Linked DNA regions of Homo sapiens: all the other regions are linked to region 2. The links are contacts of gene promoters, found by promoter capture Hi-C in human tissues and cell types (Jung and others, 2019). All regions are on one chromosome and are shown on one strand. The core of a region is centred on a gene start or on the middle of the fragment in contact, and the rest is flanking DNA. Distances in the headings are between cores, read along the strand shown.

Region 1 (2,716 bases), core at 130-2,629, 230 kb after region 2:
ACAGCAGTTACTTTTCTGTGTCACAGCTCTCAAGTCCTTTCTTTTCTTTTTTGAGATGGAGTCTGGCTCTGTTGCCCAGGCTAGAGCGCAGTGGTGCGATCTCAGCTCACCACAACCTGCCCCTCCTGGGTTCAAGTGATTCTCCTGCCTCAGCCTCCTGAGTAGCTGGGATTATAGGCGCGCACCACCATGCCCGGCTAATTTTTGTATTTTTAGAAGAGACAGGGTTTCACCATGTTGGTCAGGCTGGTCTTGAACATCCTGACCTTGCGATCTGCCCACCTCAGCCCCCAAAGTGCTGGGATTACAGGTGTGAGCCACTGCGCCCGGCTTCCAGTCCTTTCTTGTCCTGTAGTCTTACTTATCCCCATCCTCCAACACCTCCTGTCTTTCTTCCCTCCTTTATAATTTTCCCCTTAGCACTCATTACTATCAAATAAAGCATACATTTTACTTACTTATTGTGTTTATTAGTCTGTCTCCCTAACTAGAATGTCTGTTTTGTGAGGGCAGGGATTTTTATCTATTTTTTCACTGTTTTATCTTCTGAACCTAAAACAGTGCCTAGCACTTAGGTACAATAAATAATGGTACAATGAATTTAAGACTGGTACCTTAGAAAGCGCAACCACAAATTTCTCCCATTATTCTTTAGCTGTTTTCACATAAATTTGTTTAATCCATAATGTATCTAAAGCATAGGTACAGTTTCAGTGTCACCAACATGTCTATCTTTTCTTAAAAAAAATGGAAAATACACTCTTGTTTCTATATAAGGACACAGAAAAACAAACAAACAAAAACAATTCTCCTCTGTATGCTGTGGAATGGAACCAAGACTTTTAAGCCTGCACCTGTGTTAAAGAAGTTACCGGCCGGGCATCGTGGCTCAAGCCTATAATCCCAGCACTTTGGGAGGCTGAGGCAGGCGGATCATGAGGTCAGGAGGAGATGGAGACCATCCTGGCCAACATGGTGAAACCCCGTCTCTACTAAAATACAAAAAATTAGCCCAGCGTGGTGACACGTGCCTGTAGTCCTAGCTACTTGGGAGGCTGAGGCAGGGGAATTGCTTGAACCTGGGAGGTGGAGGTTGCAGTGAGCTGAGATTGCGCCATGGCACTCCAGCCTGGCGAAAGAGCGAGACTCATCTCAAGAAAAAAAAAAAAAAGAAGTTACCATTGGGCCAGACGCGGTGGCTCACGCCTATAATCCCAACATTTTGGGTGGCTGAGGCAGGCAGATCACTTGAGGTCAGGAGTTCGAGACCAGCCTGGCCAACATGGTGAAATCCCATCTCAGCTAGAAATACAAAAATTGGCTGGGTGTGGTGGCTCACGCCTGCATCCCAGCCACTTGGGAGGCTGTGGCACGAGATTCGCTTGAACGCAGGAGGCAGAGGTTACAGTGAGCTGAGATTGCGCCACTGCACTCCAGCCTGGGCGACAGAGCGAGACTCCAACTCAAAAAAAAAAAAAAAAAAGATACCGTTTTACATCTGCATGGTAGAAAGGCCTCATTTGACTTGGAGAGCAAATGGAAAGTGTCCCATAACTACAGTAAATGCTTCTCTCTGGCCAGCAGTCTTCTGCCGTCCTGTCATCCTGAAACTTCCCCAGCCAAATCCACCTAAGATTCCTGAGCCACTGGAGCCTCTGGAGGTGAAGAAATATCATGAAGACACCCTCTGCCAATCTATCCCTAAGCCATAGGTTTCTCAAATTTTCCTTTGTGTAAGAGGGGGCATGTTTAAAATACACCTCACCCCAGATGGTGAATCAGAAGCTCTTACTAAAAATTTGCATTCGGGCTGGGCACAGTGGCTCACGCTTATAATCCCAGCACTTTGGGAGGCTGAGGCAGGCAGATTGCTTGAGTCCAGGAGTTCCAGACCAGCCTGGGTGACATGGCAAAACCCCATCTCTACAAAAGATACCAATAATTAGCTGGACATAGTGGTGTATGCCTGTAGTCGCAGCTACTCTGGAGGCTGAAGTGGAAGATTGCTTAAGCCCAGAAGGCAGAGGTTGCAGTGAGCCAAGATCACACCACTGCACTCCAGCCTGGGTGACAGAGTGGGACCATGTCTCAAAAAAAAAAAAAAAAAAAGAAAAAAGAAAAAAAGAAAAATCTGCATTTGTAACAAGCTTGCTTAGTGATTCTGTGGTTGGGAGTGCTTAGACCCTTTCCTGACACCTCCTTGCACCAGCCTAATCCTGCAGTGTGGCTTGAGACTCCCCAGCTCCATGCAGAAGCCATCAAGGATTCCTGACTTAGTTGTTCCTGCCTACTCATGTGTATAGCACCACATGGAGTGTGTGTTTACATAGCTAAGACAAGATGGGTTTTGTGAGGATACAAAAGACCCCTTTGGAGAGCAATTTGGCAATATTTGCCACATGCCATACTCTTTGACCCAGAGAGTGATTCCAAGGGCCTCTTCAATGGGTCTTCTAAATGTTAGAGTCCCCCAGGACCTGGTCCTGGAAACTTCTGCTGCATTCCAGGTGATGTCATACAATTCCATGACTTTATTTTTATATTTTTTATTTATTTTTATTTTTTTGAGACAGAGTTTCACTCTTGTTGCCCAGGCTGGAGTGCAATGGTGCAATCTCAGCTCACTGCAACCTCCGCCTCCAGGGTTCAAGTGATTTTCCTGTCTTAGCCTCCCGAGTAGCTGGGATTACAGGCATGCACCACCACATCTGGCTAA
Region 2 (3,034 bases), core at 281-2,780:
TCTGCCCTGTCTCAGAGCAGCCTGAGTACCACTAAAAACTCACTGGACCCTGGGTAGGTTAGGTCCCACCCCTCTCTGGCCTCAGTTTTCCTCATTTGGAAAAGGATGGGAGGCTAGAAGCTTTTGGAGACCCTTGGCCTGCTGCATCCCAAAGATCTTCCAATCCTGCGGGTCTGCCTTCTACCCAGCCCCCAGGCCAACCCTGCTGGGCCCTGCACAGCCCGCCTTGGCTGGGTGCCAGAGCCCAGGGGGAGGTGATCAGCTGGTGGGAGCTGAGGGGCTGGAGCGGGTGGCGCCATGAGCTGGTGCAGCCGGTAACGTTACACCTCTGGCCAGCCCTGCAGCAGGCAGGCGGGTGGCTGGGCTGCTCGGACTCCTCAGGGACTGCCCAGCCCACTCCTACTCTTGGGCTGGGGCTGGGGACTCCCAGGGCAGTGGGACAACGCAGTGGGAAGGCAGTTCATTGGCTTTGTCAGGATTTCACTGCCCAAGCTGGCTCCCAGCCAGACTCACCCGGCTCCTGGGAAAAGGGCCCTGCTCACTTCCCCAGGCCCTGCACTCAGGACCTCCGGCCACCCACCCAGGAGAAAAGGCACAGCGAGACCCCTTGTCTCGTCCCCAGCCCACCCAGGAGCCCACGGCTCAGTCCTGAGCCCTGGTGGGGGCAGGGCCAGCCTCCCCACCAACAGCTTCTTCAGCTGGCTCCTCCGCCACCCCCACCAGGCCAGGTCAGAGGTCCTGGGGACGCCTGGTTGGCCATGGGGCCTCGACCCTGACCACAAGGCCAGGGACCCGCCTGGGATTAGTGGACAGATGCTTTTAGCAAAGCCACCAGGGCTCCAGGGGCCAGACAGGAAACCTCCCTCCCTCCCTCCCTCCCTGTGGCTTCCCTGCCCCCACCAAGACAGCCCCCAGGACCTGGGGGACAGCCAGCCTGAGGTCTCTTCCCAAACGAAAGAAGTCCAGCCTGGCCTTTAGGAAGTGTGTGGACATCCTTGGAGTTGCTGCTCCCTGGAGTGGGTCTGTGATTTCAGAGTCCCATGCTTCCAGTGCTGGGATGGGGAGGTCTGGGGAGCCAGGCTAGGTGGGGGTAGCTCTTACCTGGGGGGGCACAGCAGGCAGCGCCAGCCCGGCCAGGAGCTGCAGGAAGCAAGGGAACAGCCTCATGACCGGCATCTTCTCAGACGTCCCGAGCCAGGGGGCTCCGAGGGAAAACCACCATGCTCATCCCCCGGGGAGCCCCTGGCACAGGAGGAGAAGAGCTGAGTGGGGGGCTGGACGCCTCCCTCACTGCTGCCCCGAGGCCCCGGCCGGTGGTTCGAGCATCTTCTGGAAGCCTTGCGGAGTCAGGAGCCCGTAGGTAAGGCTGTGGCTGGGGAACCCGACGGGGAGCGGCCCGGCGGGGCGGGGCGCCGAGGGGCAGGCGGGTCCCGGGGATGGTCCGTCGGGCGCCCAGTGCCACTCCAGGTCCTCCCGTAGCTGGGCGGCCGTCCGTCGATGCAGTTTCCTCCGCAGACAGCAGCTCCCTTCTGAGACTGCAGCCGGTCCGCGCCTGGGTTTCAGGGACTGAGCCGGGGCGGGGCTCCGGGCCGGCCCCGCCCACCGCAGACGAGGTTCCCGAGCCGAGTTCCCGGAGCGCCCGGTCAGCCCGCAGCGCCCGGCCAGCCCGCAGCGCCGGAGCCCGCAGTGCGTGCGAGGGGCTCTCGGCAGGTCCAGACGCCTCGCCGAGCCCAGCCCGCAGCTCCCCGGGCCGCGCCGCGCCCGCCCACAGGGCCCACAGCCCTGCTTCGGCTCTCAGGGCGGTCACCTGGGATGGGGGCATCCAGGAGTCCAGCGTCAGCCGTCAAGGCTCATGATCTAACCGCCTCTGCAGGAAGGGCCGTCCGGGATGCCTGGGAAGGCAGCCATGCCCACACCCCTAGGGGGCCAAGGGATTCCTAGCCAGGTTATATAGATGAAGAAACCGAGGCTCCGAGAGCACCCCTGCCTGCATATGTCGAATGGACATAGGCATTCTTGGAAAGTGTGTGTGTGTTGTGTGTGTGCGCGCATCTGTGTGTCCGAGGAACTGGCAGAGACAAAACCCAAGCCTACGTGACTCCAGAACTCTAACCCGACCTACCACCCTCCTAGCCAGGCACGGACACAGTGGGCCTCCCACAGGAAACCTCTCAGGGCACCTGGCTGGAGGATCAGGCCTGTTGCCTCCTTGGGAAGCAGTCTTCCCAGGCCCTCCCTGCGGGGCAGCCCCCTGTGGTAGAGAGTGGTCTCACTCAGGCATCTCCTCCTGGTCCCTGGCCGAGGAGGAACTGTACGCTGCGCGGGGGTCTGTGTGCATCTGCGCGTGTGCATGGGCATTTGCGGGTCTGTGAATATCCATGAGCGGTGCATCTGAGCCTCTGTGTGGTCTGAGTACGTGTGACTACTGTACCTCCAAATACGCCTCTGTGTGGGGGTCAGGTCTCTCTGTATCTCTGTATGCTTGTGTGATCTGTTCGTGTCCGCTGTGTATCTGGGTGTGTTTGGAAGTGTCTGAATGTGTATCTTTCGGTGGGACTGTGAGTCTGCACGCCTGCCTGTCTCTGCGTGTGTGTGTCTGTCTCTGTGGGTGAAGACTGTGCCTCTCTCTCTGCGTTTGTGTGTGCCCTCCCTTGGTTCTGGATCTTTCTTTACCACCACTCCTCTCACTGCCTTCTGTGTCCAGCTCCCAGGCTGCAGGAACCTGGCAGGACTGGGAGTCACGAGTTGGCTGGGCCTGGGGCTGGTGGGTGGCTGTGGGGGAGGAGCGAGGCCTGGGAAGTGGCCCCTACAGCTCACATTCCAGCCAAGAGCAGGGAGGCCAGGGCAGCCCCAGCTCTCACCCCAGTGACCTCTGCGTCCACTGCCTGCCTGCCTGCCCACCCACGAGGGGCTGCCAGAGATGCAGCCTGCCTGCCTGGCCGGCCCTAAGCCTGGAGGTTCAGGAGGCGGGGGCCAGTCACCAGCTGGCTAAGCGGGGTCTGCAAGGAACATCCTGACGAGCTTCAAACAAGCT
Region 3 (2,900 bases), core at 198-2,697, 170 kb after region 2:
GCAATTAAAACAGTTTCTATAAGGGCTATTAAAGTGCAAGATTCTAGAGAGGCATTTAGGAGTGGCATCTGTCCAAGCCAAACTTGCTGTGTGAGTGCAGGAATATACAAAATGTTAAGTCTAAACAAAGTAGAGAGATCATTTCAGGTAGAGGCCATTCCATCTACATCCTCCTATTAATTAGAAGGCACTTTGAGGATAGGTATTGCCTCTTGTTTATCTAGATAAACTCCAGAGTTTAGTTTGGCTTAAATCTGTTAATTCTATTAACTTAATTCTGTTATTCTCGATTAACTCTGTTAAACAGAAAAGATGCTCAATAAATTGTTTCTCAGTTGAATGGGAAAAAACCAATTACTTAAAATTGGGAATGCTGACTTTCAAAGAGGCTGAATAGATTTCAGCCTAAGCTTAAAAATTCATTTTTTTCTGGCACCTTTGCAACGAGGAACTAGTTTTCTATAACGTGGTTGGCCTGAAACTGAATTGTTCTAATGATAATGCATAGATACTACAAGCCTAGAAGAAACATGTCCTATTATAGAGCAGAGACATTCCTGCTGAATTCTTCATTATATTGGATATAACTGAAACTAATTGTCTTACCTTTGAATATTTATAAGTTCAAAAATAGTCAACATTTATTCTAATGGTATAACTTTTTTTTTTTTTTTGGAGACAGTCTCACTCTGTCACTCAGGATGGAGTGCAGTGGCATGATCTCAGCACACTGCAGCCTCCACCTCCCAAGTTCAAGTGATTCTCATGCCTCAGTCTCCTGAGTAGCTGGGATTACAAGCGTCCGCCACCATGCCCAGCTAATTTTTGTATTTTTAGTAGAGAGGGCATTCTGCCATGTTGGCCAGGCTGGTTCTCGAACTCCTGACCTCAAGTGATTGGCCTGCTAAAGTGTTGGGATTACAGGTGTGAGCCACTGCACCTGGCCAAGGTGTAAAATTTTAAAGCGCCTTTGGTTGAAACCAAACTATTTCCACATTGTACTTTAACAAGTGAATGGTTAGAATGCTATTTTGCATTAGTTTCCAATTTGTGAATGGCAAATTCCCAGGGGCCATAGAGTTACTGTCAAGATGAAAGAATCTACCAAAGACCAACCCAAGTTTATACCCTTCACTGTCTGCCACGGTAGCCATTAGCTACATATAGCTACTCAACACTTGAATTGTGGCTAGTCTAATTTTAAGCTATAGATGCGGTATAGCTTGAAATGCACACTGGATTTTCAAGATTTTATATGAAAAATGGAATGCAAAACATCTCATTAACCATTTTTATATTAACTATATGTTGAAATAATATTTTGGGTATATTAGGTTAAATACACTACTAAAAATAATTTTCGGCTGGGCACAGTGGCTGATGCCTATAATTCCAGCACTTTGGGAGGCCAAGGTGAGCAGACCACGAGGTCAGGAGTTCGAGACCATCCTGGCCAACATGGTGAAACCCCATCTCTACTAAAAATACAAAAATTACCTGGGCGTGGTGGCATGTGCCTGTAATCCCAGCTACTCGGGAGGCTGGAGAATCAGCAAATTTTACCTGTTTTTTACTTCTTTAATGTGATACTAGAAAATTTAAAATTATACATGCAGCTCAACATTTTATGAGACACCACTGCAGCAGACTAAATAAATGATTTATAAAGCATGTATTGGGCCGGGCACGGTGGCTCACGCCTGTAATCCCAGCACTTTGGGAGGCTGAGGTGGGTGGATCACGAGGTTGGGAGTTCAAGACCAGCCTGGCCAACATAATGAAACTCCATCTCTACTAAAAATACAAAATTAGCTGGGCGTGCTGGTACATGCCTGTAATCCCAGCTACTCGGGAGGCTGAGGCAGGAGAATTGCTTGAACCCGGAAGGCGGAGGTTGTGGTGAGCCGAGATCATGCCATTGTACTCCAGCCTGGGCAACAAGAGTGAACTCCGTCTCAAAAAAAAAAAAAAAGAAAAGAAAAAAAAATTATACCCCAATAATGGGAACCACTACTTTACACACTATGGATTCATAATAAAATTTATTTGAGGGAGAATGGAGATAAGAGGATAAATAAGAGGCCAGCCAGTGGGTGTGCAAAGCACTTCATATTGGCTCTTGGAAAGTCGCTTTGTGAAAAATGTTCAACTGTAAGTGAAAGGAGAGGAGAAAAGACGTTTACCTCCTGGAGTGGGGTTTTGCATTGGATATGATAGGCCTAAAAAGTGAGTCCTGAGGATTCATATACCGGGGGTGGGGGGTGGGGGTCTTTTAGGAATGAAAGGCAGGGGAGATGGCTCTCTGTAGGAGTGATTCTATGCAATTGCAATTTTAATTGCAAAAACCACAATTACTTTTGTGCGAACCTAATAGTAACAGTTTCCAAAAGAGAGAAGATAAAGAGAATAAAATGCCTAGCTTACAGAACCATATTTGGTCTGAGGATGCATAATTAAGGATTCTTAATTATATATATATATATAATTTACATATATTACATACAAAATATGATAATCTTTTACTAGCTCATATAAACTATCGATCTGCAGTAACTGAAGAATAACAATATTTTTTCTCTAATTCATCAGGTATAATTTGCCATAATTTAAAAGAGAAATATGGAAGAATTATCACCAATCCAGACATAGAAGTACTCAAGAGTAACAGTACACCTAAAATGGTTTCTGCTAGCCTTTATTTGAGAAAATTTACACAAAAATCCCCAATCCAACATTTACAAGTGAATCTGTATAAATCCCATATGCCTCTTTCCCAAACAAACCAAGAAATGGCTTTATGACAGGGGTCCATGACAATGGTATAACAAGGCTTACTTAAACTGCATCATTCTCATTTATATTATACAGACCATTTTGGATAATATGCTCAAAAATGGAGG

What was found. Contacts are between HindIII fragments. The study calls those that stand out against the background at their distance.
Region 1: a fragment that was not itself captured here is called in contact with the fragment with the promoter of PGF in region 2 in 2 of the 25 tissues and cell types used here (aorta and pancreas).
Region 3: a fragment that was not itself captured here is called in contact with the fragment with the promoter of PGF in region 2 in 1 of the 25 tissues and cell types used here (thymus).

Annotation. Positions count from the first base shown.
Region 1 is chr14:75,179,462-75,182,177 of GRCh38, forward strand. No RefSeq gene overlaps it. Among named protein-coding and RNA genes, the nearest start is that of TMED10, 4.2 kb to the left of the region's middle. The HindIII fragment of the contact is 5,531 bases long and covers 1-2,716 here.
Region 2 is chr14:74,954,067-74,957,100 of GRCh38, forward strand. It overlaps PGF (placental growth factor), which reads right to left and starts at 1,531. Exons shown (of 7, transcript NM_002632.6): 1 at 1,102-1,531. The coding sequence starts at 1,176. RefSeq lists silencers at 1,328-1,397, 1,578-1,677. The HindIII fragment of the contact is 10,779 bases long and covers 1-3,034 here.
Region 3 is chr14:75,128,790-75,131,689 of GRCh38, forward strand. TMED10 (transmembrane p24 trafficking protein 10) reads right to left here. Exons shown (of 5, transcript NM_006827.6): 5 at 2,680-2,900. Among named protein-coding and RNA genes, the nearest start is that of NEK9, 3.2 kb to the left of the region's middle. The HindIII fragment of the contact is 3,127 bases long and covers 1-2,900 here.